Regions from separate parts of the Homo sapiens genome. Here regions 1, 2, 3, 4, 5 and 7 are each linked to region 6. The links are contacts of gene promoters, found by promoter capture Hi-C in blood cells and fetal thymus (Javierre and others, 2016). All regions are on one chromosome and are shown on one strand. Each heading gives the region's core, a stretch centred on a gene start or on the middle of the fragment in contact. The rest is flanking DNA. Distances are from core to core; before and after follow the strand shown.

Region 1 (4,181 bases), core at 120-2,619, 9.8 Mb after region 6:
CCGGGGGATTTGGGTCCTGCTGGGATTTTTCCAGCCCTGCCCCCTCCCTCTGGAGGAGGTGCCTTCTTTAGAGGACACCAGCCCCAGTCTGGTCACCAGGCTCTCTCTCATCTTCAGTAGCTTCTTGGGCTCCTTTTAGGTTGGGGACTGAGGGGTGGAATCCCACGGGCCAAAGGCAGGGTGAGGTGGGAACAGGGGGACATTTACACTTTGGCCCAGTCTCCAGGCGGCTCCCCGCTGGCTCGCATCTTTCCAGACCTTGAGACCTACCCAGTCCCCAGCTTTAGGGAGCCCGGGATGAGAAAGAGGCAGGGGACCGGGAGGGGGTTCAGATCTAGCTGAGGACACACGCGCGTTCTGCAGTTGTAAAAGATTTCCCGGTGGGCAGGATCGTTTCCCCTCCCATCGCCCAGGTTTCCGAGCGGCCAAGAGACTGGCCCCCAAGCCACACTGCTAGGGAGCGCCGGGTGCCCGCGTCCTGGTCAGCGCTCTTCCCACCGCCAGCACGTGGGGCTCCCATTTCCTTCCTGGCTCTTGTCCGGTCCTCCAGCCAGCCCCGGCTCTAAGTCCGCGGCAGGAAGACGGACGCTGCGTGTGAACCCGCGGGGCCGGGCGGACCGGCGCCCCGAGCCAGACGGCGTCCCCAGGCGGGGGCCGGGTCCTCGCAGAACAGCTGATCGGGACCCTTATTTTGGCCACAGCCACAGTTGGGGGCGCCACCCAGTCCGTGCCTTCGACCTCGTTCTTGGCGACCCGGCCACCTGCGCCCCCCACCTGGCACCCTTGCCTTCCCTCCTCTCGCCCCTCCCCTCCCTCCTCTCGCCCCTCCCCTCTCCTCTCCCCTCCCCTCCCTCTCCTCTCCCCTCCCCTCCCTCTCCTCTCCCCTTTCCCTCTCCCCTCTCCTCTCCTCCCCTCTCCCCTCTCCTTTCCTCCCCTCTCCCCTCTCCCCTCCCTCTCCTCTGCCCACCCTCTCCTCGCCCCTCCCCTCTCCCCTCCCTCTCCCCTCCCCACCCTCTCCTCTCCCCTCCCCTCGCCCTCCTCTTCCTCGCCCCTCCCCTCCCTCTCCTCGCCCCTCCCCTCCCTCTCCTTTCCCCTCCCTCGCCTCGTTCCTCTCATCCCTCGTCTTGCCCCGCCCCTTTCTCCTCGCCCCCTTCTCCTCGCCCCTCCCCCTTCCCCTCGCCCCTCCCCTCCTCTCGCCGCTCCCCTACCTTGCCTCGCCCCTCCCCTCCCTCGTCTCGCCCCTCCCCTCTCTCCTCGCCCCTCCCTTCCTCGTCTCGCTCTTCCTCTCTCCTCCCCCTAGGCCACGCCCCCCACCGCCCCGCCCCCCGCCCCCCCAGCCCCGCTCCCCGCCCCCCCAGCCCCGCTGGGAGTGTCTGGGGGCCGCGCCCAGCTGGGTCGGGACGCGCTCCCTGAGCTGCCCGAGCTCCGCGGGGACTCGGGCCGGGATCCTCGGGCGGCTGCATTGGCCGGGGCCGGGGCCGGGAGCGGGCCATGATGGGCCGGCGGCGCGCCTTCGCCGTGGACGGCCGGGGTGAGTCACCCACCCCCAGGCTGGCCGGGCTCCCCCCTGCCCCGGAGCCGCTTCCCGCCCCCAAGCCGGGCACCCTCTCTCAGTTTCTTGCCCAGCCCCGCGCACCCCGCGGGCGGAGCCCGCGCCGCTGCGCCTCCCTCGCCGCCTCCCTGGAGGGGCGGTCATCAGGGGACGCCATGCAGGCTGGAACCCCTTTGGGCCCAGGCGTTAAACCAGCCACCGCCTCCGCCCCACTTCCTCCGGCTCCGCTTCCCTCGCCTTCCCGCTCCTTCTGAGGATGTGGGAATCCGCCCGCGCCCCAGCCCCCTCCGTGGCTGCGGACCCCTCTCCCACCCAGTGACCTCCTGGCCCACTTCCTTGCCCAGAGGGGCCTGGGTTGGCATTCGGCTCCCGCGTGCCCCGCAGCTCGTCCCCGCCCCCCTAGCCTGTTTCCCGTACCGTTCATTCCGCCAGGACGCCCCGTCGCCAGAGGGCCTGGCGGAGGTGACAGTGAGGGGGTGCTAATGCTGCCCCTTCGTCCCTTTCTTTCACTTCAGTTCTTTCATTTTAAACTTTTCATAAAATCTTCACTATTGCTCACTTACAACAAAAGCCCAAATCGGTTATAGCGGTGATTTTTATCACTCTCCCGGTGAGCTGCAGGAGAGACTTCACCTGGCATCCTGATGCCGCAGGGGCCCCCAGAGAGCAGGTTGGATCCCAGGCTTTCCTCTCTGTACCCTCTCCCCTCTCCCTGAAGCTGGATACAGTCCTACTCCCGCTTGGGGAGCAGCGGAAGAGCCTGTGGCTCCCTACTTCTGACTCGGGAGATCGTGGGCTGATCCTAGGTGGGAAGCGCAGGCGCAGGCCGTCTAAGGGATTGATGGATGTGGCCTGCCAGGGCTTTGCCTACCACACAGCTCAGAGCACGGGTTCCCTGTCGCTAACAACCGTTGCGAAGGGAATCCCATCCACACATCTCCCAGACAGCTGGGGCCATATCCGGGCTGCCCGTGGCTGTCCAGTGACCGCCCTTCCTCACTGCTCCGGGACACTTCTCCCTGGGGCAGTGCTGCCAGCCTTCAGGAATGCTGGGGGTGTTGGGGGTGGCCTGCCCAGCCTGACGCTGACTCTCCATGCAGATGGGGCTGGCGAGGGCCTGGCACGGGGCTGCATAGTGCCTGGAGTCACCAGCACCTACAGACGGATCCCCGACGCTGCCCACGGGTGCTCATCCTGGGAGAGAGGTGACAAGTTCAGAGGTGTCGGCAGGGAGGCACTCTTTCTCAAACTGGCCTCCCGGGACTCAGGAGTGGAGATGGCAGTTGGGGACAGCCCCCTGGCCGCCTTACCGGGCCTTTCTCAGGACTCCCTGGACTTTGAATCCTCAGGGAGTTCTGAGCCCCCCGCCCAGGTAGGCCGACTCCTGGCCAGCCAGAAGCTGGGGGAGGTGTTGGAGCGGTCCCGCCGGCTCCCAACAGCTCCCACCAGCTTGTCAGGACAACACCGCTCCCTGCGGCTGGCAAGCAAGCCTGAGCGTGAAGTGCCCCTTGGAGCAGGGCAACAGGAGTCCATGGAGGCAGACACAGACCTAGAGGCAGGCCTGGAAGAAGAGGCGGTGAGTGCTCACTCTCAGGCTGGGTTTAAGAGTGGGATGGACAGCCTAGCTCCTCTGGTTCTCCCTGGAGCTCTCTCTGGGTGGGGCACTCCCTGCCCCTAATTGATGGGTTGTGTCATAGGTTCTTTCTGCACCCCAGTTCCATTTGTGCACGGCCACCTCTGCAGAGGAGGTGGGCAGCTACGGGGGCCCTTCCTGGCACTATGCCCCGCTGGGCAGTGGGGAAGCCGGCTGCGTGTGTTCCTCCTCGGGGCCCACTCTGCTCCCATCTGCTGGCTGAGCCCAGCCTGGCTGCTTAGGGTAGGGCAGGAGCCCTACTGGCTGAAATCTCCCCTATCTCACAATGTCCCACAGGTGGGGGGCCTGGGGCCTGGAGCCTGGGCCTGCCTCCCCGGGCAGGGTCTTCGCTATCTGGAACACCTGTGCCTGGTGCTGGAGCAGATGGCAAGGCTCCAGCAGCTCTACCTGCAGCTGCGGATCCAGAGGCCCCCAGGGGTGAGTGAGATTCGAGTGGGGGAGGGAGAGGACAGATGGGACCCTGGGAACCATGGCTGCCCTCAGAGCAGCTTCAGCCCTCTAGCCAGGCCCTGATCACCTGTCTCTCCTGTGCATAGGATCCCGGCGAGGAGGAGTCGACCCGAGCCCCTTTACCGTCCCCGTTACACACCCCAGGCAATCGGGGGCAGGGGCCATGGGAGCTGCTAAGCCAGACAGAGCACACAGGTGAGGGGCCATCGTGTCTCCCTTTGTCCTGCCTGCCTGGGGTCCCACCAGCAGGTCCTCTGAGCCGAAGCTTGATGGGGTGTCTTCTGGCCCTGGCCAACCTGACTGTCTTTCTGAAGGAGCAAAGGCTGCTTCACCCCCAAAGGTGGAGGTGCCCAGTGCCAACCCTCCCAGGCTGCCAGAAACCCCAGTGGAGCCAACGTACCACTTGCCATCCTCCCAGGGACACAAGGTAGGGGACAGGTATATGTGGGGCAGGTGGTGGGCTGGGGTGGGGGGAGGGGAGGTGGGGGATGCATGGGCACCCTGGGGGCCAGCAACTCTGGGGAA
Region 2 (3,791 bases), core at 1,153-3,652, 7.1 Mb after region 6:
TTAAATCCAATTTTCTACCATCTTCTATTCTACAAACCCAAAATAACTGTATCACTGAGTAATCCTGGCCCATAAAGTAATCATACAGTTATGCTGTTCTGTGCATAAGTAGGAGATATTAAACAGTGCTTCGAAGCCCAGCACGGTGGCTCATGCCTGTAATTTCAGCACTTTTGGGAGGCGAAGGAGGGCGGATCACCTGGGGTCGGGAGTTCCAGACCAGCCTGGCCAACATGGTGAAACCCCGTCTCTACTAAAAATACAAAAATTGGCCGGGCTAGCGCGTCGTGGTGGACGCCTGTAATCCCAGCCACTCGAGAGGCTGAGGCAAGAGAATCTCTTAGATGGAGAATCTCCTAGATGTTTTTCATCTCTTAGATGGAAAACAAATCTGGAGTTTTGGTGAAAAGGACATTGATTGTGGCTGGAGGAGATAATTATAATAATAGCGTAGTTATCTTTCTGTGGGTTTCACGTCCAGAACATTTAAAACATATAAAACCCTTGCTGGGTCAGGGTTTTAGTCATCTTTGCAGCTCCCACGGACGGCATCCACCAAAGCGCTTTCCAAGTACTTCGTTGCTCAATAAACGTTTGTTGGAGAAACCGGTGCATAAAGGTGAAATAATAAAACGTGGACGGATTTCGGAAAGAGAAGGAACCCCGGAGCTCACGCTTTGCACGATCACCCCCACCAGCCCCAGGAGTTTTCGCGTAAATCGAAGCCCGGGGAGTGAGTCGCAGGCAGCGGCCCCCGGGGAAGGTGTTTCAGGCCGGCCCGGGTGGAGAGTGCTTCCCGCCGCCTCCCCGACCCTCTGCTGTTCCTCTCAAACTTCTTCTCAACCTTCCACGCCGGGGGGACGCCCAGGGACCGCCCATTCCCCGGGACCGCCCGTCTCCCCGCCCCCGCCTCCGCCCCCGCCCCCGACAAACTGAGCAATACCCAGAGAGGATGGAAATGGCGAAGAGGCCTGGCGCCTGCCCGCTCCCGCGCATGCTCCCTGACTTCACCAAGGTCACGCTGCAGCCCGCAGGAATGAAAATCCACTTCTCCGCATTTTCGAGGTGACCTGGAAGCGGTTCAACTGCTCTGGCTTCTCAGAAGAGGAGGGGACCGGGCGGTAACGAGGAGCCAAGGGGAGGAGACTGCTCGCAAAACCCGGAAAAGCTTTCCCGATCCACTCTGCCAGCCTCCGTGCGCCTCCAGACATGCGCAGTAGCCTCCCCCGCGGTGGCGGCGGCGGCGGCGGTGGCTGCCGTGGCGGCTGAGAGTCCAGAGCCGGACGTTCCGGCCGCTTCGGGCTGGCGGCTGGAGAGCGCTCGGGTCATGTCTGCCCAGGGGGACTGCGAGTTCCTGGTGCAGCGAGCCCGGGAGTTGGTGCCGCAAGACCTGTGGGCAGCCAAGGCGTGGCTGATCACGGCCCGCAGCCTCTACCCGGCAGACTTTAACATCCAGGTGAGGTCCCGGCTGTGCATGCGGCCGCTCTGCGTGGAGGTGCGCGCTCCCGTCGCCCGGGCTGCCCTGGCCCAGAGCTGCGCCTGCCTGGGGGCTGCCGCCTCCTGCCCGGCCCCCTGCTTTCTCCCCTCCCACCCCCTCCTCTCTCCCCTCCCATCCTACACCTTGCTCCTACACCTTTCACCCGCCTTGCTCCTACACCTTCCAGGAGCCCTCTCCCCAGCACTTGAGAGACGGCCGATCCCGCTTGAGGTCGGGTGTGCTTAGGTCCCTGGGGCTCAGCGTGCCATCTGGCCTAGACAGCACATGATCGCCACTAGCAAAAGGCCATTCGCTCCTTCATTCATCATAATGGCAGCAGTTTGTTCAGGGCCTGCGACTTTGGAAATATTATCCTACTTAATCCTGGGAGCCTGAGATTGCAGGTGAACCCCAGGGTCACACTCTAAGCCCAATGGCAAGTCTGCCATGTATGTGGCGCTGTGTCACCAGGCGGAGCTTCACTCTCAGGCCCTCCCTTCCTGCAGGAGGGCCAACGAGCGATGCTGGATGAGCTGGGAGCCTTCTGGGCAGGGGTGAGTGACCAGGGTGCCTGATGTGTGTTGCAGTATGAGATGTACACCATCGAGCGGAATGCAGAGCGGACCGCCACCGCCGGGAGGCTGCTGTACGACATGTGAGTGGGACGCTTGACATCACTTTTACTGCACTGAATCTCTCCATGAGGTTTTGTTTCTCTCTGCAGAAGTGGGAGTTGGGGGAAGATCTTCAAGTTCATCTATATCTTCGATACCTAAAGCAAACCTAGTAAGGAGTCCAGGCCTGCCATAAATTGCTGACATGGCTTTTGCAGAAGAGTTTAATTATTATTCTTATGTTTTATCCTTGTTAAAACTTCTGTTTCATAATTTATTCTAGAAATAATATGTGCTCATTACAAAAATTCAAACACTACTTGTTATAGAGAACAAAAAGTGAAAGTGCATCCTAAACTGAACCAGAGTTAAGTTTTGTAGGCAGTATATCTATACATGTATGCATAATACATAAATAAGGTTTTGGGGGGAAGGGGTTACAAAAGTGAGAAGACCATACTACCTTTGCCCTGCAGCATGTTTCCTTTACTCACTCTCATGGACCCCTTCCCATATCAGTATGTAGAGATCCACTTCATTCCTTTTCATGCCTGTGTAGTATTTCGTAGACACTCTCTTCTTGGTAGACATTTAAATAGATAGTTTTAAATTATTTGAAATTATATTCAGTGTGTCAACAATTTTGTAGTCATATTTTGGTGTTTTTCTGTGGAATAGATTCTAAGACATTTTCATAGTCAAAGTTTATGCGCATTTGAAAATTTGATACGCTATGAAATTACTCTCCAAAATGTGCGATCCCAGTCTACATTACCACCAATGGTGTATAAAGAGTGTGTTTTCCCATACCCTTCCCAACACTGGATATTATTAGTCTCTTTTTAGTTCTTGTCACTGTGATAGGAGAAAATGGTATCTTGCTATTTTAAAAAAAAATTTGTACTACTCATACTGTTAATAAGATTCAGTATTGTTTCAACTGTTCTCTTTGGCTGTGTGTATTCTGTGATTTGCCTTTGCCTATTTTTTCTTTCAAATAGTTTGTTTTATTCTTGTTGACTTTTAGAAGCTCTTTCTATGTTATGGTTACTTGTCTTTTCACCTATAAAACCCACTAAAGACTTATGTGAGTACTCTCATTTTTATAAATCAAGTAATTCTTATTTTTACATTTTTATTTTGGTTTGTTTTGGCACGTCTAAGCATTCACTTGGAATAAAGGAAACTTTTTCACCAAATGCTAACGTTTTTTCTTTTGGATACTGTATAGACTTTGACATTTTAATTTAATGTATTTATTTTAAAAATAGGTTTGTGAATTTCCCAGACCAGCCGGTGGTGTGGAGAGAAATCAGCATTATTACATCAGCATTAAGGAACGATTCACAGGACAAACAAACCCAATTTTTAAGAAGTAAGAATAATGGTGTATAAGTTACCATTTCGGGAATACCAAATCATATATAGTAATTTCACACACAAAAAAGTCACACCTGGGGTATTGGTAACCATATGTATGTTTTATTCTTGGCAACCAAAGTCTATAATAATGTCACTCGGTTCCTTGACTTGCTTAGAACCCTTTAAGCTTCTTTAAAGGATATGGATTTATCAGTGAGACGAGGAATTAATTGTATATATTTTTAACAGGTTTTACAATAACCAGATAGCAGCTATAGATTAACCAGCTCTCCACAAAACAGGAGAGAAGCTTTTAGTAATTTAGAAGCTTTCTCTTT
Region 3 (3,986 bases), core at 1,252-3,751, 5.3 Mb after region 6:
CACTGAATACAAAGAGGCATGTTTCCTACGTGTACAAGAATTCACATGAGCTTGAAAATGTTTTCACTTGTCTTCTGGGCTTTGATGGGATGGCATCCTATTAAGCTACTGATATTTAGGTCAAAGGAATGTGAATAAACCCTCCATGAGAGGAAGGACCTCATCTATCTCATTGGCTGACGCATTCCCAGCGTTTAGGAGTCTGGCACATAGTAGGCAAGCAGTATTTGTTGAATAAGTGAATGGATTACACCTGTGTGTTCCCTCTTTGGGAGAAGTAGGGAAAAGCAGATGAAGTGCAATAAATTCCTAGGCCAGATGGGGTCTATGAGATTTCTGGCAACTGCGTGAAAATCATTGCTAAAGCTGATTCAATAGCTAATGTCAACAATGTTGACATACGCTGTTAACTAGTATGAGAAGCTGATGCATAAAAATGAGTTTACAAGTTTACTTTGGCAATTAATTACTAAGCCATTACGTTTCATCTTCGCACATCTTATGAAGTGGGTCAGATTTATTACGCAGAGCAGCCATCTCTCCCCTCTAGTTCCTTTCCTGCCAATCACACTTAGCCTACCGCAAGCTGTTTTCTGCCCCCAACACTGCTCCAGTCGAGGTGACCAATGACCTCCAGTTGCCCAACATCATAATACCACTGACATCTCAATAATATTCAACATAGTTAACCTGTCCCAGTCTCTTCCCTGAGCTTCCTGTTCCACTTACTCTCCTATTTTTTTGTTTTTGTTTTCTGTGACGAAGTTTCGCTCATTGTCCAGGCTGGAGTGCAATGGCAGGATCTTGGCTCACTGCAACCTCTCCCTCCCAGGTTCAAGCAATTCTCCCGCCTCAGCCTCCTGAGTAGCTGGGACTACAGGCGTGAGCCACTATGCCCAGCTAATTTTTGTATTTTTAGTAGAGACAGGGTTTCTCCATGTTGGCCAGGCTAGTCTCAAACTCCTGACCTCACGTGATCTGCCCACCTTGGCCTCCCAAAGTGCTGGGATTACAGGCATGAGCCACCGCGCCCGGCCTGTCCTGTTTTAACTTTGGCAATTTCTCCTCTTCTTGACACATACATGTGCAAGTTACTTAGCCTTTGCCTAGTTCTCTTTTCTTCTCTTTCTCTATCCTATTTCTAGGTAAGTTCATCTGCTCCAAGGGCTTCAAATATAATATCATTATGCCAGTGACTCTCAGTGTCTCTCTTCTGAGTGCCAGTCCGAGTGGCCTGCTGGATGCCTCTCTGCCACCTGAAATTTAACATACACCCCAAATGAAAACGATCCTCATTCTTTAGCCCCCAAGCTTTCCCCTCCCCATGTTTCCTGGAACGGATGCCACCATTCGCCCAGCGAAGCACTTCAGCAATGTGCAGGTCACGCTGACACCTCACTCCCTCATCCTCACCCAACGATTCCTTCAGCTCATTCGCCCTCCTGATTTTTTTCTAGAACATCTACTTCTCTCCCTCACCCCTGGCGCCACCATCCTTCAACGCACCCTGTTTTCTTTTCTGGACTAGTCTCCTCATATCTACCCTTGCTGACCTCCAATCCAGACTCATCTTTTTAAAGTGAAAATGTTATCTTGTCTAAAACCATCTAATGGCCTCCCATTGGCTGGTTCCAGATCCTCCCATTTTTTAGGATAAATTTCTGAATCCTTAATAAGAGTCTACAGAACCCTGGATGATGTCATCTGGCGCTATCTCTCCAGACATTTCTTGTGCCACTGTCTTCACCATCATCTCTTAATAGACTCCTAAAAAATTCAATAATGAAGAATAACTCAGGAGGACCTTCACATAGGAATATTGTGAAAAGCCTCAAAAACAAACACACAAAAAATCCTTACAGATGTTCTAAATCAAATGACTTGTTTCCAATTTAAAGCTGCTTCTCATTATTCATATTTATTGAAAGTACTTTTGAAATATCTTTTGTTACCATGAGGCTATAGTTTATCATATAATGACTCCAGTTGAAAAACTGCTTATTCTTCTCAGAGAATGAAGTCACTAAACTTCTGTAAGGTTCTAAAGGTCCTTCAGTGCATGGATCCCAGGATTTTCCAGGCCAGTAAAAAAAAATTAATGAGGCCTTGGCACAGGAGGGTCCAAATTTTTATTCTGCCAAATGGAGATGTTAAAACAAAACAAATTCCATGCACATAACATCTACCTCTGCCGTTATTTTTAAGAACACGTTTGCAACAATGAAAACTTGAAGTCCATACAATCAGAGTAAAGATTAACATTCTAAATTAATAATTTTAGTTTTGCATTCTTATTTTTCCAGTTTCATTGAAAACCTGTGAAAACAGCTTCCCAAAGTGACACCAGTGGCCAGACTAGACTTTGATAATCGCTGTTCTAGATAAGAACTATTATATCCATTGAGAGGTTGTTAATTCTTCTTCTGAAAATAGCTATCAAAATACTTTTGCTAGAATAAATAAAGCTATTGAGAAAGAAGAAAAAACAGCCTCCAACACCTGAAACTGCTCTGAGTCCCACAGCTATCTCTCAATATTATTACAAGCCGATCTGACACTCACAGCCAGGTAAGCTCTGTTTTCCTCCTGGACATCAACAATCCCACAGATACCTACGTCGGATAAGATTATTCTGAGACATGACACACCAAGACAAAGCAATGCCACTTGAAGATTTTCTCTAAGAACAGACAAAAACAAGGGCACCTGCAACGCACAAAACACCAAACATCCCCTTCTCGTGCTAAACAGAATGGCTGTTCCTTCTTTACTCAGTCAGAATTGCCCCACCTTCTAACAGCATTCTATCTACAGCAAAGCCCGGTTCCTCAGTCTTACCCCAAATCATGCAACCGAAGTTCAAATTCTGTAATGGGTTTTTTTCTATAACCTACCGTCCGTCGCTCATGGTGTGTGGTCTCCTTTGCCTCAAAGAACACTAAACCCAATTTGTTCAGCTTATGGTGTGTTCCTGGTGGTCTTTCAATGAAGGGCCCTGACAGTATCAAAGTATCAAAGTCTCTCCCAATTCCCATAAAACCAACTACCGTCAAGCAAATTAATTCCCTACCCACAATGGAGCAATTTTATTTTAAGGCCTTTAATCGTGTCCACATACATGTTCTGTGTATTTTCCTATTACAGGAAAAACTGTATATACTATTCTGGATTCTACTTTTATCTGCTGAACATTATATCAATTTTAATGGCTAAATCATATCCCACCATGATTTTAAAGAATTTCTCCTTACAGGTATAAAAGAAGACAATGCACATCTTGCTTCCACTTTCAATAACCTACCTAAACTATTCAAGACCATCACCATCTAGCCTCAGGCCAGATGCGCCAGGTTCCTACTTATCCGATTCTGTTGGCAAAGACAAACGCAGTCTGATTGCTTTATAAAGAAATGAATTATGAAAGAGTACTGGGCGTCAAGAGGCTCGGACGTTACGCATGTTCAGTAAACAACAGTGTAACCTCTGGCTAAATATTTTCTCACTCTAGGTCTACTTCCTCTTCTGTAAAATGAAAGAGTCACGCTCGTCCCTCACTGTCTCTTGCAGTTAGGAAGTCCGTAGCCCTGTGACTTGCTCGTGGGAAAGAGCCACGGGACAGGCGATCCCATGACTTGGGTGCAAAAGGCCACAGGGGGCCCTTTGGGGCCTGCTCTGGGCTGCTCGCACCGCCCAAGCTTGGGACCACTCAGCGTTTCCCACGGCCCTGCAGTATCCTGGGCTGAACTCCTGAACTTCTTCGGGAGAAAGCACCTGACCATCAGGCAGTCTGTCCTTGATTGAGTAATGCACACAGGTCCACCGGAACATTTTATTTAAACACTTCAAAATGCAAGGGCCTGGAACTGGTTATTCAAGTACACTCACTCAAATCTAAGAATGTGCGAATCACACCCAGGTATCCTGCAGAGACTAGGATTTCCTTTAAAGGAGTTCTAGTTGCAGGTAGCACCGAATCTACCGAGGAC
Region 4 (4,078 bases), core at 1,475-3,974, 7.4 Mb after region 6:
GCAATTCTCCTGCGTCAGCCTTTCGAGTAGCTGGGACTACGGGCGCACGCCGCCATGCCCGGCTAATTTTTTGTATTTTAGTAGAGACGGGATTTCACCGTGTTTCCCAGGCTGGTGGCGAACTCCTGAGCTCAGGCAATCCGCCTACCTAGGCCTCCCAAAGTGCTGGGATAACAGGCATGAGCCACCACGCCCAGCCAACCTCTTAATTTTTGTAAATTGATTGTAATTTTTTGTGAATTGATTGATGTTATCATTTAAGGGGACATGTAATTATAGTTATTGTGTGTGTGTGTGTGTGTGTGTGTTGAGACAGGGTCTCACTCTGTTGCCTAGGCTGGAGTGCAGTGGTGTGAGCTCAGGTCACTGCAACCTCCACATCTCAGGCTCAAGCGATCCTCCCACCTCAGCCTCTCAAGTATCTGGGACTACAGACGGACACCACTACGTCCAGCTAATTTTTTTTAATTTTTATTTTTTATTTTTGGTAGAGATGGGATTTCCCCATGTTGCCCAGGCTGGTCTACAACTCCTGAGCTCAAGAGATCCGCCCGCCATGGCCTCTCAAAGTGCTGGGATTACAGGTGTGAGCTGCTGTGCCCAGCCTAAAGCTTCACACTGAACCTTTAGAAGTCAGAGATCCTTTTTGTGTCCCCACTGCCTAGCACAGTGCCTGACACATAGAATGTGCCTTGTAATTGTGTAACTTGCATTTAAACTCAAAAAGCTTTGTTTTTTGAATGAAGAAATGGAGTAATGTTGACAGTTCCACTGTACAAATTAGATCCTTTTAAAAAATAGCTTCAAGATTATAGGACTTTTAAAAGAAATGGAAAACATATTCAGGCTTGAAATTAGGAAATTATCTTGAGCATTTTAGTTGAATTTCTGAAGTCACAAGGAATGAAAACTTGATTTTCTCTTAAAAGAAAAGATTCAACAACATACATAGAGCTTTCGGGTGCTATGTATTTTGAATTTGGTCATCTCCATTTTTCTTGAGACCCTAGATCAACTGGCCTTAAGTTTCTTATATCATAAAGCAGAGCCAGCCCTGCAAAAAGTCAAAATAGGAATCTTCTCCTTGCTTTTTTCCTAGAACCTCTTCTTCAGGTGCTCACTGCTCATCATGCAGATCTCTACTCTTCTTGTACAAGGGAAGATGATTGCTCTGGGTTTTTGTTTTGCTAATAAGGCAGAGGCTAAAAGACTAGGACACTTATTATGCAATGGCTGTCAACTTTTTCTGAGTATTTCGTAATCATTAAATGGTGTTACTAGTGTTGAGCAATATCCTATCCTGCAGGAGGAAGAGGATGTCATCTGATAAAATATGTGCTCCTTAAAACCCGTGTAGATTTTGGGTTTTAGATGTTACTTCATAAATACTTGTCTGGCTCATATGATAGTTCAGAATCAAAGCCAAGACATTTTGGTTGTAAAATATGTTAAGAAGGTAATATAAGCATATATCTTCTGTGTTGTCAGAAGTTCTGATTATCCCCCATTCACACACCTACGGGCTCAAATTCTTTTTCATTTGGAGAGGAGTGGTCAATATGTAGGTAAATAGAAATATTTAGGTAATTTACAAATGGGTTTTTTCCTGTTTTGAAGGGCAACTTAATGTCTTTGACAGCCATAGTTTAAACTGGTATCTCTGTTTTGGGCTGTTAATGGTAATGGTGAGGAAGGCTGGATAAATCTAGAGATAAAAGGTAGTGTTTGTTATCATTCTGCTTGGTTTTCTTTGCAGATAGTTTTAGTACCATGGAGAAGAGCTGTAGTTTTATACAAATTGTCTTTTTGTCCCCACTTGTAGTCCAAGTGCTAGAAGCTGTATGATCTCCATACTTTTTAATTGTACTGAAGACTAAGGCCAGAAATATTATAAGGGTCATAGAGTACCAATCCTAAGATTAAAGAAAAACAAAACAGTTAGAAGCCTGGCTCCCCCATTTAAAAACAAACTTATCAGGGCCTTAGTTTCCTTAGGGTGCATCAGCCTTGCCTACTGTCTTAGCCATTTTCTGCTCCTTTTAACAGAAAACCTGAAACTGGGTAATTTATAAAGAAAGGGAATTTATTTCTTAAAGTTCTGGAGTCTGGGAAGGCCAAAGTGGAGGGGCCGCATCTGGTGAGAGCCTTCTTTCTGGTGGGACTTGAAAGAGTCCCAGGGTGGTTCAGGGCATCACATGGTGAGGGGGCTGAGAATGCAGGGGCACTAGCTCAGGTCTCTCTTCCTTTTGTAAAGCCACCAGTTACCTTCACATGATAATTCATTAACCCATGAATGGATTCATCCATTCATAAGAGCAGAGCCCTCATGACCCATTCCCCTCTTAGAGGCCTCACCTGTCAGTACTGCCACATTGGGGATGAAGTTTATTGCCTGGTGCGTTAAAAAGTAAAAACCTGTTTTGCATACCTAAAATTGCAGGCTTGTGAAATTGTTTTGGGTGGTATCGCTTCATAATTCTTACAAGATACCATACCACAAAAAATGAACCAGTTCAGTTTTAGAATTTGGGCTGTAGTAGAGTCAAAGAATAAGTGGCTTTGGAGCTAGAGTGTACACATTCAGATCCTTGGGCTGGTTGCTTGTGTCCTTGGGCAAGACACAATAATTTCTCTGAGAATAATTTTTCTCTTCTAAAACTTAGAATAATGATAGCTAACTCTGTCTGTTATGGAGATTAAATGAGAATTCCTGAAAAGTACTTATTAAATGTATGATAGTGTTATCAATTAACTTGCAAGGTTACTTACTAACTTTTTAAAAGGCTGGATACGTTGTTCCAAATTTAGAGACTTTTGATGAAGTAGAATCTTGTCTTCTGTAGTAGATGTCAATTTGAGTCACTGTTTCCAGGAAAAGCTATGACTAGTGTTTCTTTTTCTTGGTCATACTTTTGCTCGTGACTGGCAAAATTTCATAGTTTGGAATGAGCTTGAATTTTAAACATGAGATTCTAAAGCAGTATTGTTGTAGAAATCAGACCTATAAAGGAGATACAATCTTGTTGAAAAAATAAAGAGAATTTTAAGAACCTGGTGTATTTTACTGATGTTGCATTTTATTCAAAACAGTTAATCATAAATCTCAATACCATATCCCCTCCCTCACCCCAGCTGTTTGGTAAAGGTTTTGGAAAGGTCTACGTTTCTGCATTTCTGAAAACTGGTTTCAAGAAAACATATTTCTAATGTAGCTCACTTTCCATTTCCACATGGCAATTTTAGAAAGCCATTGTAAAAAAAATGCTGGGAGTCTTTAAAATGAGAACAATGAAGAAATCTTTTAAAGGGTTGGAATTATGTTTTTTAAGAGTATTCAATCATTTTAAAACAGTAGGGATGGTTTTCATAAAAGTGGCAGAAAATGTGGCAAATGGGGTCTTTCTAGTAATCTAGGGGAATGATTAATCCTTTCACATGACCATCCATCCAAGTAGCTTGCTTTTTATCTAAAGTGGGGAAAAAAAAATACAGTTCAGTTGGGGGGCCTCTATTGAGACAGTTGCAGTACAATTACTGATGTATTCAAGCAAATATGTGATGTCTGGATTTAAACGTCCTGTTAGCAGGAAAGATGGAAGCCCTGACAGTGCTGTCTGCTCTGTCCCAGCATTTTTACCAGGGCTCTGGCTTCCCCGCCTGAGGCTGAAGGAATTGTAATTTTAAATTCCAAAGCCACTTGAGTGGACAGACTGGTTAGTAAATGGTTTCCTCATGCTTGGGAGTCCACATCTGTGCCAGGAATCTCTGTGCAAGCTCATTATAAGACCTCAAAAGAAATCAAGCAAGTGAAAAATTCCCAGTTGCTAGACAGCTTCATGTTAATTATTTTAGGCCTTATAGTAAATTTTCTTCAAAACTTTAGTTCATGTATTTTTTTTCAGTTGTTCTGCTTATGAAATTTAGTGAATTTTGTAGGTGTCTGGTAGAATTACTCTCCCCTGAGTGTTCTTATACCTGATCCCCATTTCACTTGCCATGCAGGTGTGATAGGTGAGGGCTTTGGGTAGGACCTGCTGGGGTAGAATTAGCTGTTTATTCCTAGGGCGCACTTTGCAGT
Region 5 (3,936 bases), core at 11-2,510, 6.3 Mb before region 6:
CCCTTGTCTCTTTGAGGCTTCTCAATTTTCGTCCTGTTTAGTGTGTACTAAATTTGATAAAAGCCTTGTGGGAAGATGGTCTCAAATGCTAGACTCATCTCTCTAGGTGTCAGTCTTAATCTAGAATCTCAGCCCGGTAATTCTTAATTGCCTTGATAGCTCCCATGGACTTGATGGGGGTGTGGAAATTGAGAGAGAGAGAGAGTTATAAAAGTAATACATATTTATTGTTTAAAAAGACTAACGGGCAGTGCCATGAAATTCACAATGAAAAGAAAGAGAAACCAGCAACGCTTTGCAGTACATTTCCTTTTCCATTTTTCAAAGACAGCTACTTTCAAATCATCTGTTTCTTTTGGTATTTACCTTCATATTTCCAAGCATTGTACATATATTACTTCAGTATAATTGAATGCTATAAAAATTATGCAGATGAGTTCTGCTTCTGGAAAGGATACATAAAAGGTAAAATTTTTGACACCATGAGTGTCTGAGCATGCCTTTATTATACTGTTACCTTTGACTAATATTTTAGCTGAGTGTAAAATGCTAGCACAAATATTATTTTTCCTTGAAGGTATTTCCCATTGTTTTCTCAATTCCAGACTGCTGTTGATAAGACTGATTCAGTTGTCACTTATTGTTTGCATGTGATGTGTCTCTATCCTCTTCACCTTGATTACCCACTCTTTTAATATTTTTCCCTTTCGCCAACCATGCTGGAATTCTGTGATAAGCTTGGTGTAGTGCTGTTTTCGTTCTTGTGCTGGGCCTTTGTGGGGGATTCTTTTGATCTAGAATGCATATCCTTTAGTTTGAGAAACTTTTCTTTGATTATTTCTTTAATAATATTTTCTCCATTTTGTGTATTCCTGTATTCTTTAACTTCTGTTGATTGGCTGTTGGATCTCCTGGTCTGAGCTTCTGATGTTCTTGCCTTTTGTCTCCTGTTGTCCGTCTTCTGGTTCTTCTCTTCTACTACCAGTGAGCTTTACTCAACTTCATTGTCTGATATTTCTGTAGAAAATTTTTTTACTTATGTCATCTTTTCTTAATTTCCAAGAGCTCTTTAGGATCCTATTAAAAAATAATCTTCTGATCATGTTGCGTGAATACAGTATCTTTTTTTTTTTTTTTTTTGGAGATGGAGTCTTGCTGTGTTACCCAGGCTGGAGTGCAATGGCACAATCTTGGCTCACTGTAACCGCCACCTCCCGGGTTGAAGTGATTCTCCTGCCTCAGCCTCCCGAGTTGCTGAGACTACAGGCACGAACCTCCACGCTTGGCTAATTTTTGTATTTTTAGTAGAGACAGGGTTTTTCCATGTTGGCCAGGCTAGTCTTAAATTTCTGACCTCATGATCCACCTGCCTCGGCCTCCCAAAGTTCTGGGATTACAGGTGTGAACCACCACACCCAGTTTCCTTTGGTTTTAATTAGCTGAATTTTTCCAACTTTTTGAATGATTGCACTTATTTTCAACCTTCTTACTTTGTATTTATGCATTTAAGATTACAGGCGTCCGCCACCTTGCACCCGGATAATTTTTGTATTTTTAGTAGAGACAAGGTTTCACCAGGTTGGCTAGGCTGGTCTCAAACTGCTGACCTCAGGTGATCCACCTGCCTCGGCCTCCCAAAGTGCTGGGATTACAGGCATGAGCCACCATGCCCAGCCATGGATACAGTATCTTAAGATATGAGGTATTTTTAATTTTGGTTAAATATGTGTTCTGTTTTCTCTGTTGCCTCTGAATTTCATTTGGTTTTATTTTTTTGATGTAGAAAGCTTTTCTGAAATGTCCATTATTATCTGACTCTTTCCATCTTTAAAAATGTGGTGCCTTCTCATGGCCACATTTTCTCTTCTGTCCTCTTTATCCTTGCAGGGCTCCAACTCTATTCTTTCAGTAACACTTCAGAGGGTTTTTAGAGGGAGTAGATGTGAACTTGTGTGTATGATTCACCGTTGTAACTGGAACAGATATGTTTTAAGCAGCGTTATGCATTCCTTTGAGTGTTTCTCTGTCAGATGTTGAGAAACAGAATTGCTGGGGTAGAGGTTTTTTGATCAGTTGTAGTTAAGTTGTGAATGAACAGTAATGTACATTTTGTTTTCTGCATTTTGTCTACAGGTTTCAAAAACTTTTAACAAACAAGTAACTCACGTTATCTTCAAAGATGGCTACCAGAGCACTTGGGACAAAGCTCAGAAGAGAGGCGTAAAGCTCGTTTCGGTGCTCTGGGTGGAAAAGTAAGCAGTTTCTCTCTTACTTTTTTTCCTTAAGTATCTAGTATTGAAAATGTGTGGAGATATTTTTCACAGATCGCAGAACCAGATAAAGTTTGATTTTCATCTTTTCTCTGCCTCTTACCTCACCTAGTAATTTGAAATCCTCCAGCCTCAATTTCTGTGGTTCAAAAATGGTCATGCTATAATACCTAACTCTGCCTAGGGGGAAAAGGAGCCTGCAGGTCCTGAAGCTGGGTATGCAAGGTGGACTTAGGAAGCAAGAGGGAATGTGATGAAGCAGATTGTGTTAGTCAGCAAGCGCTGCTGTAACAAAGGACCACAGAATGGGTCGCTTGAGCAACAGAAAAGGACTTTCTCACAACTCTGGAGGCAGGAAGTCCAGTATCAAGTTGTCAACAGGGTTGGTATCTTCTTTTTTTTTTGAGACAAAGTCTTGCTCTGTCATCCAAGCTAGAGTGCAGTAGCTGGATCTTGGGTCACTGCAGCCTCAGCCTCCTAGGCTCAAGTGATTCTTATGCCTCAGCCTCCCAAGTAGCTGGGATTCATCTCAACCTTTGCCTCCTGGGCTCAAGTGATTCTCCTGCTTCTGCCTCCCGAGTAGCTGGGATTACAGGCACGCACCACCATGCCTGGCTAATTTTTGCATTTTTGGTAGAGACGGGGTTTTATCATGTTGGCCAGGCTGGTTTCAAACTTCTGACCTCAGGTGATCCACCTGCCTCGGCCTCCCAAAGTGCTAGGATTACAGGTGTGAGCCACCGTGCGCGGCCCACACAGTTTTGATTACAGTAAATTTGTAGTAAGTTTTGAAATTGGGAAGTACGAGTCCTGTAACTTGTTTTTCATTTTCAAGATTGTTTGGCTATTTTGATTTGAGTTCCTTGCTAAGATTGTTTGGCTGTCTTGATTGGGTTCCTTGCATTTCTATATGAATTTTATGATCAGTGTGTCAATTTATTCAAAAACAAAAAAGGCAGCTGGGATTTGGTAGGATTGTATTGAATCTCTAATTAGGGAAGTGTTCATAATATTTAATCTTTCAGTCCATGAAAATGGGATGTGTTTCTTTTTCAGGTCTCAAATTTCCTTCAGTGACACTTTCTAGTTTTCAGTGTACAAGTTTTTTACCCCCTAGGTTAAATTTATTCCTAACTTTTTTGTTCATTTTCATGTGAATGAAATTGTTTTCTTAATTTTTTTAAGTTGTTAGCTGTTAGTGTATAGAAATGCAGGTGATTGTTGTATGTTGATCTTATACCCTGCAAATTTGCTTAACTTGTTTATTAGTTCTAAATATATTTGTGGGTTCCTTAGCATTTTCTATATGCAATGTTGTGTAATTTTGTAAATAGAGATAGATTTACTTCTTCATTTCTAGTCTGGCCGCATGTTATGTCATGTCATGTCATGTCATGTCATGTCATGTCATGTTATTTGTTCTGGCCAGAACCTCCAGCACACTGTTGAATAGAAGTGGTGAGAATGGACGTCCTTGTGTTGTTGCTCATCTTTGGAGAAAAGCTTTCAGTATTTCATTATTTCGTATGATGGTAACTGTGGTTTGTGTAAATGTCCTTTTTTAGGCTGAGGACGTTCCCATTCCCTTCTGTTGCAGGTTGTTTGTTTGTTTCTGATTATTAAAGGAAGTTAGATATGGTTGTCAGATGTTTTTCTGCATGACTGA
Region 6 (4,187 bases), core at 1,677-4,176:
ATCTATGCAACTTGAAAAAAAGAGAGATTACATCTTTCAGAGCCTTTTCCTGTTAAACATAATATCCTCGATCCAAGAACCAGAATCTCTGTTAACTAAAATATTATTGGTCACAGAATGTTAAGCTAGACCTCAATTATCAAAAGTGCTCACTGTTCTTCCATGGACCAGGACCTGGATTCTTGTGAAACCCCTAATTCAAGGTCAGATCACTAAATCAGCAGTACTGTCCATAAGGTTCAGCCTCAGTGACCAAAAAAACTTCCTTGGATATGTATACTAAACATGTGCTATAAGGCAGGATGAACCCTAGACCAACGTTTAGGAGAAGCGGAAGATACAGCACTGCCTCTCTACCAGTTAACAGTGTGACGGTGTGCAAGTCTTCACTGCCTGGCATCTGCTTCCTCGCTTTAAAAATCACACCATGGTCAGTTACTAGGTGGTCTGTACAACTGAGTCCAGTTTCTCTTCTCTTTATTCACCCAGAGAAGCAGAGTCATGTGTATCAGAATTCTGTATTCCAAATACTTTTTTTTTGTTCTGAGCCTACCTTTCTATTTTATACCTGCCTACTCCTCACGAAGGCACTGAAAGAATACAAAAATCTCCGGGGTTTGTGCTTCGAACTCTAAAGATACTAAACAACACAAGATCTTGACATTAGTTCAATATGACTAAGCACTTGGGACAAAAGATGACCCGAAAGATGATCCTTTCAGTTACACAGTCTATAAATTTACCTGTAATACCTAAAGTCAGTTGCTATTCTAGATGTCTGTTTTCTTGGGGATTATTCCCCTATCATTTCATGCCAATGGATAGACACTAAGATCTTGAAATACGCGTAACACAAGGTTTATCAACAGTGGCACTTGGGGCCTGATAATTCTTTGTTGTGGGAATCCTGCTGTGCCTAGTAGGATGTCTGAGCAGCACCCCAGCCTCTCCCACTAGATGTCGGTACCAGCACCACCCCCACAAGAGGTGGCAACCAAAAATCTCTCCAGATATTGTTCTAAATAATGCCCCCTGAGAGAGGGGAGATAAAATCCCCCTGGTAGAGAACTACTGATTTATATAGAACAACTCTTCCTTTTACGTAAGAGAAGCTTGAAACTGCCCCCTTTCAGCGCCTAAAACCACCTTAAGAAGAAAGTGCTAACCTAGGTTAGGAGGCCGAGGCTGCTTCTTGGAGACTAAGAAATGCACTCAAGACCTATAAGGCCTTTCCCCACAGCCTGATCCTAAGTGGAAAGGCCAGGAGAAGCGTGGCAGAGAACTATGGATCAGGCAGCCCCTCTCATCTTTACCATAAGCTAGGTGCACTGCAAAGTACATAGGAAATAAGCAGGATCTGAAACAGGCCAGCTGAAACTTTCAAGAGGAACCAGTTCAGGCATTTCCAGGTAGCAAGGGACCACCCTGGGCAGCTCCGCCCCAAGCCCCAAGCCCGGCGGCCTGCAGGGCCTCCCGGGGCCGGGCGCCCGCGCGGAGCTCCCGCCACGCCCACCGGACGTCACCCGTTACACAACGCCCCCCGCCCCCAGCTTATGCAATTCTGCCCTCCCGCGGTTCCCAATTGTCCCGGTGACTTTTGTGGGTGAGGAAGGGAGACGCCGCCTGCCCGGCCTAGTTGCCCTCGCGGGGGATTCTCTCCCCGCCCCGGCAGTCGTTTCCCCGCGGCGGGCCCGGCCCGAGAGCCAATTCCCGGAAAGCGCGCGGCAGGAAGCGAGCGGCCGCTCGGGATAGCCCAGCTACCACCCATCCCGCGCCGGGGCGGCCTCGGTCCAGGTCACCCACTCCGCGCCGGGAGCGCGCGCCCGACAGCCAGGCCGCGGCCGAGGGAACCCCGCGCCGAGCGCCCCTCCCCGCGCCGCGTCACAGTCGGCTCCCAGGGCGATCCCCATTATGACCGAAGCACCCCGGGGCGCCGCCCCCTCCCACACCCCCCAGCACCCCGAGACCCGACACGCCAGCGGCCCAGCGGCCCCGGGGAAGCAGAGGAGACTCTCGGGGCGCAGACAAGCTCCGGGTCCCCGGCCCTCGGGGCCAGGAGGGTGCGGTCGGCCCGGCCCCGCCGCATCCCCGCGCGGTCACCTGCTCGCAGCGCCTCGCAGGCGGCGGCCAGGGCCTCCCGGTAGCGCCCCTGGTGCAGTAGCTCCCCGAGCCTGCCGGCCGCCCGGGCCCGCTCGCGCTGGCCCGGAAACCACTTCTCGGCCAGGTGGTTGAGGACGACGCTGGTTCTGAAGTCTGAAGCGGCGATGGCGGCGGCCAGAGGCGGCGGCCGCGGGGCGGTCCCTTCAGCATCAGTGGCACTGGCGGTGGCGGGCGGCAGCCGGTCCCGGCAGAGGCGGCAGCGGGCGCGGAGTTCCCTCCGCAGGCAGCGGCGGCAGTAGCTGTGGCCACAGGGCACGGTCACCGGCTCGCTCAGGAAGCCCCGGCAGCCCAGGCATCTGAGGAGCCCGCCGGCGCCGCCGTCAGCGCCTGCAACCGGGGCCGCGCTCCAGCCCAGCCCGTGGCGGAGCCGGTAGTTGAACACCAGGCAGTCCACCAGGGCGCCCAGGCACTCGGGCCTGGCCGGGGCCCCGCGGCGCAGCGCCGCCGCGAACGCCTCCAGCGCGCCCTTCAGGTGGCCGCCCAGCGCCAGCAGCTCCCCGCGGCGGAGCAGCAGCTCCCAGCGCTCCGACTCCGCGGCCGCGCGCTCCAGCCGATGGCCGCTGCCGCCGCCCACTTCCCAGAACCGGCCTCGGCCCTGCGGCGCTGGGGCCATCTCCCGACTCCCTCCTGGGGAGGTCCTCGCCACCGCCGGAGAGGACATGGCCCGCGGAGGGCTGCGCCGCCGCCGCCCGCCGCCACGGTCCCGGAGCCTCCCGGGCGCGCGGCTCCGCACGCGGCCCGCGAGCAGGGGGGCGTGGCGCGCGGACACGGCGGGGCTGCGCGCGCCCGGGAAGCCCCGAGGGCGGGGCCTGGCGAGGGCGGGGCCGGGCTCGGCGACGGCGCCCGGGACTCCCCCACGCCGCCCGCGGCCGCGCTCCCGAGGAGCCAAGCGCTGGGCCCCGCCCCTTCCGAGCCCCCTCCGGGTGGGGGACGCAGGTCGGATGATTCCTCCGTCGGAGATCTAATTGGCTTCTCCGGAAAGGAGGGCTCGGCTCGTGACGGAACAAAGCCGGAAGGACCCCGGAGCTTCAGTCCCCGCTTGCCTGTCTGCCAACGCCGCCACCTGCGGTGGCCCTCGCCCCTGCCGGGGGTTGGGGGACGCTCCCCTGCCGCGCGGGACTCCGGGTCACCACCCCTCCCCCGACGCCCCCGCCCAGGCCGGACCTGCCCCAACTCCTGGCGGGCGGGGGTCTCCCCGCGTGGCCTCGCGCTTGTGCGGGTCTGCATTTTCATAGCTCTACGCCCATGTTCCAGGTGGGCGCGCCCAAGCAGGGGGCCTGGGAGCGCACCTTCGGCAGATGACTGGGACTCTTCGGTTCTAGAGGACTCAACTTTAAATATGAACAAAAAACCCACGTTCCTGGGGCGACTCCCTCCAGAGGGCAAGGAGTTTTTCCTGGTGCCAGGTGACTGCTTGCCCGTCTTGCTTAAAACTCATCGTGGGCCCACCTCGAGGGAGAAAGCCCACAGCTTCCTCAGGTGTCTCCACACCTCAAGCACTGCCTTACAGCTGGTTAAGGTCTATATTTGGCAGTTTTAAAAGAAAACACCAAGAAACATGTTTCACATGGCGGTCACCGTATTACTACAACCCAAGCTGGCTCTGCAGTTTTGCTGACAGAAGAAAATGATCGGGTTGATATATAATGGGTGCTATTTCCCTTAAACTTCACAGCAGCAAGTTTAAAGCTCTCAGCTGAAAATACAGATTTGATGATAGGGTATTAGATCGCTAATGTTGGAAGTCACTTAGGACTTTTAGTCCTTTTTCAAATGATTGGAAACACAGGGAAAGTTATTTGTCAAAAATCACACAGCTAATACAGATTTTAAGATCACGTCTATTCCACTACTACTACGTTAGACTAATATGTAATATTTAATAAAATATGTAATATTTCATAGAAATATATGAGATTTTCAAAGTAAAAGAAGTTGCTAATTGGAAAGTTCACCTGAGCATGCTATGTATGAAATTGGTAAACGTTTAATATTTCTCTTTATAAGGAACAGGCAATTAAGGCTAA
Region 7 (4,068 bases), core at 506-3,005, 6.1 Mb before region 6:
ATCATGCATTATTTAAAAAACATTGGTTTGGTTTACTGCATTGTGCCAACCTTCCAAATTCTGACACATTGCATCATACAGTATTGAAAAATCACAATGGTTGCTATTACCACAGTCCTCATGAAAAAGGTCTTCAAGAACTGAGAAGGTGTCAAGCTCATAGAGCAATATAAGTTTTCCAAGATTCAAGTTTTCACTTGAAAGCTTCAATTTTATTGTTGGCAACATTACCCACTGTTTTCTTTTGAAGTGAATTTGTTTTTGAAAAAAGTGTCTGCCAGACTCACCACTTTATCTGCTAGTTATTCTTTCAAGCAAAAGTGATGTTCCACGAAAAAAGTAGCTCTCAGCTTGCAGCTCAGAGGTTGTTTCCTACAGGGGAGCTATTGAGCTTTGGTATGCTTCCCATGTGCTTCATGCAAGTTCCATTTAGTCACATGGAGTATTCATAAGATGTGTACTCCACAGTTGACATTTAATAAAATTGACTTTTTTTTTTTTTTTTTTTTTTTGCTATCACATTCAGGCTATTCTTAAGCGTTTTTCTGCCATGATCACATTGTGATGAAGAACATGATGGTCACTAGTAGGTAACTTTCTGTGTCATTGCCTTACTCTCAGTGAGGTGCTAGTGGATTTACCTACCCCTGCTTTTGCATCACCACTGTAAATCTAATAGTGAAAAGGCAAATGATGTCTCAGTATCACTGTGAAAACATTTTTCCCTTGGACCAGCTGAAAGCATCTTGAGGAGCCTGAAGGCTTCAAGGTCCACACGTCAAAAAAACACAGCCCTAGACTGATGGTGGCCCATTATGGGTGGGGTCAGCTTCCCCCTAGATCACATGGGTTCTGTTGGGAGGGGTGGCTTGTCTGCATGACCATCTTAGTCACCTCAAGGAGGGAAGGGGCAAAGGATTGCCAAGCATCTACTGCGTAAGTAGATAGCTGTAACCTCTGGGTAAGAAAGTGGGATTGGGTGCGGCATGAGGGAAATGTCCACATTTCATTCAATATTCAAAACATAGGATTGCTTACACTTTTTATAACAGGAATGCCTTCTTGTTTTATCTGTGCAAACAGCAAAATAAAAGCATGAATGGGAACTGACCAAAGTTTTATTTAGTTTTTACAGAAATAGGATCATAGTGCATGTATTATCCAGCAACTTGCTTTGTCACCTAGTGTCCTGGAGATCTGTCCACGACTACGCATTTAGTGCTACTTATTCCTGTCCAACTGCTGCATACCATTTCACTTATCAGTACTGTGTATCCACAAAGCTATTCTGCTACTGATGTGCACTTAGGTAGATGGACTGATTAAAAGGGTATCTGTCTGTATTAGGCTGTTCTTGCATTGCTATAAAGAAATACCTGAGACTGGGTAATTTATAAAGAAAAGTGGTTTAATTGGCTCACATTTTGGCTGGCTGTACAGGAAGCATAGTGCTGGCATCTGCTCAGCTTCTGGGGAGGCCTCAGGAAACTTACAATCATGGTGAAAGGAAAAGGGAGAGCAGGAGCAAGAGTGAGTGGGGAGGTGCTACGTGGTTTTCAACCACCAGATCTCGCGAGAATCACTCACTATCCTGAGGACAGTGCCAAGAGGGACGGTGATACCTATTCATGAGAAAACTGCCCCTGTGATCCAATCGCCTGGCACCAGGCCCCACCTCCAACATTGGGGGTTAAGACTGATAATGAGATTTGGGTGGGGACACAGATCCAAACCATATGGCTGTCCATTCTTAGAACATACTGTCAAATTTCCTTCCAAGAACACTGTACATGAGGGATTCGTTTTTCTCTCCATACATGGTCACCACCAAAGGCTAAGCTACCATCATCCTTTCTAGCTGGGAGTCTAGCTATAGTCTCCAAACTGTTTAAAATATACTCTCCACAATGCCTGAACAACTTTTAAAAAGATCAAATATAAGCATGTCACTCCTCTCCTTAAAATCTCAGTAGCTTCCCTGTCCTTTGGGATAAATTCTAAAATCCTTATGTGTCCCCCAAGACCCTGCTGTCATCTGGTTCTTGCCTATCTTTCCAGACTCAATCCCTAGCATCCTTGTCTCCTTTCCTTACCCCAATTATTTCTGTAAAAACAATCTTCAAATGGAGGCATGCGTATCCCTGAGAATATGGACACGTGGTCATGAGGAGTTTCAAGGGATTCAGTTTTCAGATCCCAACTCTTCTAAAAGTGATCTGTCTGAGGACTCCTGCAGTCCAGGCCCACCTGGCATTTCATAATGGCTCCTCTCCCCCCTGGCACATCCTAAATCTTACTACATTGTGCTGCCCTGCTGAGGTAGAAAGGTGTAATAAACCTTAGGACACCAACAGAGATAACTTATTTAAGAGATGCATTTCTTGTAACTTTTTTTTTTTTTTGCCTACAATTCCTTATCAGATTTTGTGAAACACATTGATTAAACTGTGTATTGCTAATAATAGTAACAGTTCAATCCAGAAGAAAATTTGCTTCTTAGGACCCTAATGATACAGTCTGATCAGTAAAAAACTTTGAAGGATAGAGCATATTCAATTATGATAGAATCCTGTGGTAGAAGTGAAATAAAAATATTTTCAGGGAGAAAAATAATCAATGCAAAATTTTCAACTGGTCAAAGGCTTAAGTATTTTTGAAATGAATGATGGGGTGGATATTAAGTCACTATAATATTTATAACTCACTGCATACATTTAAAAATTTTCTGTAATCACTTTATTTTCAAAACATCATTCATAACTCATCAGAACTTCATAACTACTTAAATTTATAATTAAAAGCCTTTTTAAATTTATCATTAAAAGCCCCCCTCTCCCCACCTTTTTTTTTCTTTGAGATGGACTCTTTCTCTTTTGCCCAGGCTGGATTGCAGTGACGCGATCATGGCTCATAGCAGCTTTGAACTCCTGGGCTCAAGCAATCCTCCCAACTCAGCCTCCTGAGTAGCTGGGGCTACAGGCATGCACAATCACACCCAGCTAATTAAAAAAATATATTTGTAGAGATGGAGGCCTCACTCTACAAAGCGCTTAAGTGATCCTTCCTCCTTGGCCTCCTGAAGTGCTGGAATTACAGGTATAGGCCACCATGCCCAGCTGAGAAAAACATTTAAATATCAGTTTAAGAATGTGTGATGGGAATACACAGCATTCTTTCAAGGGGCATCTCAACAAATTTTAAAAAGAACACTGTGGCCCACTCCAGTGCTATGCATGAGAATATGGTGATTTCTCAGCTTCAGGCGTTCAAATGTGCCATTCTCCCATGGAAAGCCCACTAAGTCCCTCAAGCTTCACCTGAAATACCATTTCACTGAGAAGTCTTCCTTGTCTCCAGACTAAATTAGATTGCCTTGATATATGCTCCCAGAGAACCAAGAATGTCCCCTTTTCATCCCACAGGTAACTCCTTGTTAAATGTTGTACAAGGAAGGCATAGACAGAATTCACCTTTCACTGTTCCACTGGTGCCCAGCAGGGTATGCAAAGGAGGAAATCAGCTGTGCTCTGAAAGAAGCACCATTCCAGTAAAGGGGAGGAAAAGGTCATCAGACTGCAAGGGCTCAACAAAAGTACAAGGTAAGGAGGCAGAGGGTGTGGGCTGATTATCAACTAAGAGGTTTGCACGGAAAAAGGGAAAAAAAAAAAAACAGAAAAACAGGGCCGGGTAGTGGCAGAAAGAGAGGGTGGATCTGTGACTGTTCGCAGGAAGAGAGGAGCGGGAGCAGGACAGACAATAACTGATAGTCAGGAGCTGGGTTTGGAGATAAAGAGGGAACAAGAGAAAGTTAAGTTCTGTGTTTTCATGGCAAACATTGCACAAAAGTTTACAACTTCGTGACTAACAGTAATCTGGGGTGATTCACAACAAATTTACACATAAACACATATTTACTGACTTTATACACAGCAATCCTAACGTGAACACAGAACCTGCTTTATCTTTTCGCACACTGTTCTAGTGTAGAGATGTCTGGTCTCAGTTAAAGAAAGCATAAGGAGCATTAGTTGTGCACACTGTCCACACCTGTGACTTTTTTCCACCAGT

The links. The method cuts DNA at HindIII sites, captures the fragments that hold promoters and counts their contacts. A CHiCAGO score of 5 or more calls a contact.
Region 1: a contact is called between the fragment with the promoter of C8orf58 here and the fragment with the promoter of LONRF1 in region 6, in 1 of 17 cell types (neutrophils). The highest score is 6.4, in neutrophils.
Region 2: a contact is called between a fragment that was not itself captured here and the fragment with the promoter of LONRF1 in region 6, in 1 of 17 cell types (total B cells). The highest score is 6.7, in total B cells.
Region 3: a fragment that was not itself captured here is called in contact with the fragment with the promoter of LONRF1 in region 6 in 3 of 17 cell types (total B cells, naive B cells and M0 macrophages); the score reaches 9.4 in total B cells.
Region 4: a contact is called between a fragment that was not itself captured here and the fragment with the promoter of LONRF1 in region 6, in 1 of 17 cell types (total B cells). The highest score is 9.5, in total B cells.
Region 5: a fragment that was not itself captured here is called in contact with the fragment with the promoter of LONRF1 in region 6 in 1 of 17 cell types (naive CD8 T cells); the score reaches 5.1 in naive CD8 T cells.
Region 7: a contact is called between a fragment that was not itself captured here and the fragment with the promoter of LONRF1 in region 6, in 3 of 17 cell types (activated CD4 T cells, total CD4 T cells and total CD8 T cells). The highest score is 9.0, in activated CD4 T cells.

The regions. Positions count from the first base shown.
Region 1 is chr8:22,598,230-22,602,410 of GRCh38, forward strand. C8orf58 (chromosome 8 open reading frame 58) reads left to right here and starts at 1,370. Exons shown (of 7, transcript NM_001013842.3): 1 at 1,370-1,531; 2 at 2,653-3,128; 3 at 3,483-3,623; 4 at 3,743-3,851; 5 at 3,971-4,083. The coding sequence starts at 1,492. RefSeq lists enhancers at 1-368, 3,057-3,934 and silencers at 755-814, 1,180-1,279, 1,310-1,769. The HindIII fragment of the contact is 7,578 bases long and covers 1-3,919 here.
Region 2 is chr8:19,816,211-19,820,001 of GRCh38, forward strand. It overlaps INTS10 (integrator complex subunit 10), which reads left to right and starts at 1,206. Exons shown (of 17, transcript NM_018142.4): 1 at 1,206-1,456; 2 at 2,065-2,132; 3 at 3,363-3,466. The coding sequence starts at 1,328. RefSeq lists silencers at 787-926, 1,447-1,576 and enhancers at 1,077-1,156, 1,197-1,256, 1,757-1,846, 2,057-2,146. The HindIII fragment of the contact is 2,472 bases long and covers 1,167-3,638 here.
Region 3 is chr8:18,079,821-18,083,806 of GRCh38, forward strand. All of the region lies in intron 1 of ASAH1 (N-acylsphingosine amidohydrolase 1), which reads right to left. Among named protein-coding and RNA genes, the nearest start is that of ASAH1, 2.3 kb to the right of the region's middle. RefSeq lists an enhancer at 3,744-3,853. The HindIII fragment of the contact is 2,384 bases long and covers 1,310-3,693 here.
Region 4 is chr8:20,199,712-20,203,789 of GRCh38, forward strand. All of the region lies in intron 1 of ATP6V1B2 (ATPase H+ transporting V1 subunit B2), which reads left to right. Among named protein-coding and RNA genes, the nearest start is that of ATP6V1B2, 4.4 kb to the left of the region's middle. The HindIII fragment of the contact is 3,998 bases long and covers 726-4,078 here.
Region 5 is chr8:6,412,632-6,416,567 of GRCh38, forward strand. It overlaps MCPH1 (microcephalin 1), which reads left to right. Exons shown (of 14, transcript NM_024596.5): 3 at 2,134-2,252. Among named protein-coding and RNA genes, the nearest start is that of MCPH1, 8.0 kb to the left of the region's middle. The HindIII fragment of the contact is 1,050 bases long and covers 736-1,785 here.
Region 6 is chr8:12,752,600-12,756,786 of GRCh38, forward strand. It overlaps LONRF1 (LON peptidase N-terminal domain and ring finger 1), which reads right to left and starts at 2,927. Exons shown (of 12, transcript NM_152271.5): 1 at 2,101-2,927. The coding sequence starts at 2,821. RefSeq lists silencers at 1,326-1,565, 1,706-2,245, 2,142-2,332, 2,336-2,675, 2,756-3,425 and 1 more and an enhancer at 2,401-3,220. The HindIII fragment of the contact is 11,195 bases long and covers 1,111-4,187 here.
Region 7 is chr8:6,702,958-6,707,025 of GRCh38, forward strand. All of the region lies in intron 1 of MCPH1-AS1 (MCPH1 antisense RNA 1), which reads right to left. Among named protein-coding and RNA genes, the nearest start is that of MCPH1-AS1, 3.2 kb to the right of the region's middle. The HindIII fragment of the contact is 3,107 bases long and covers 203-3,309 here.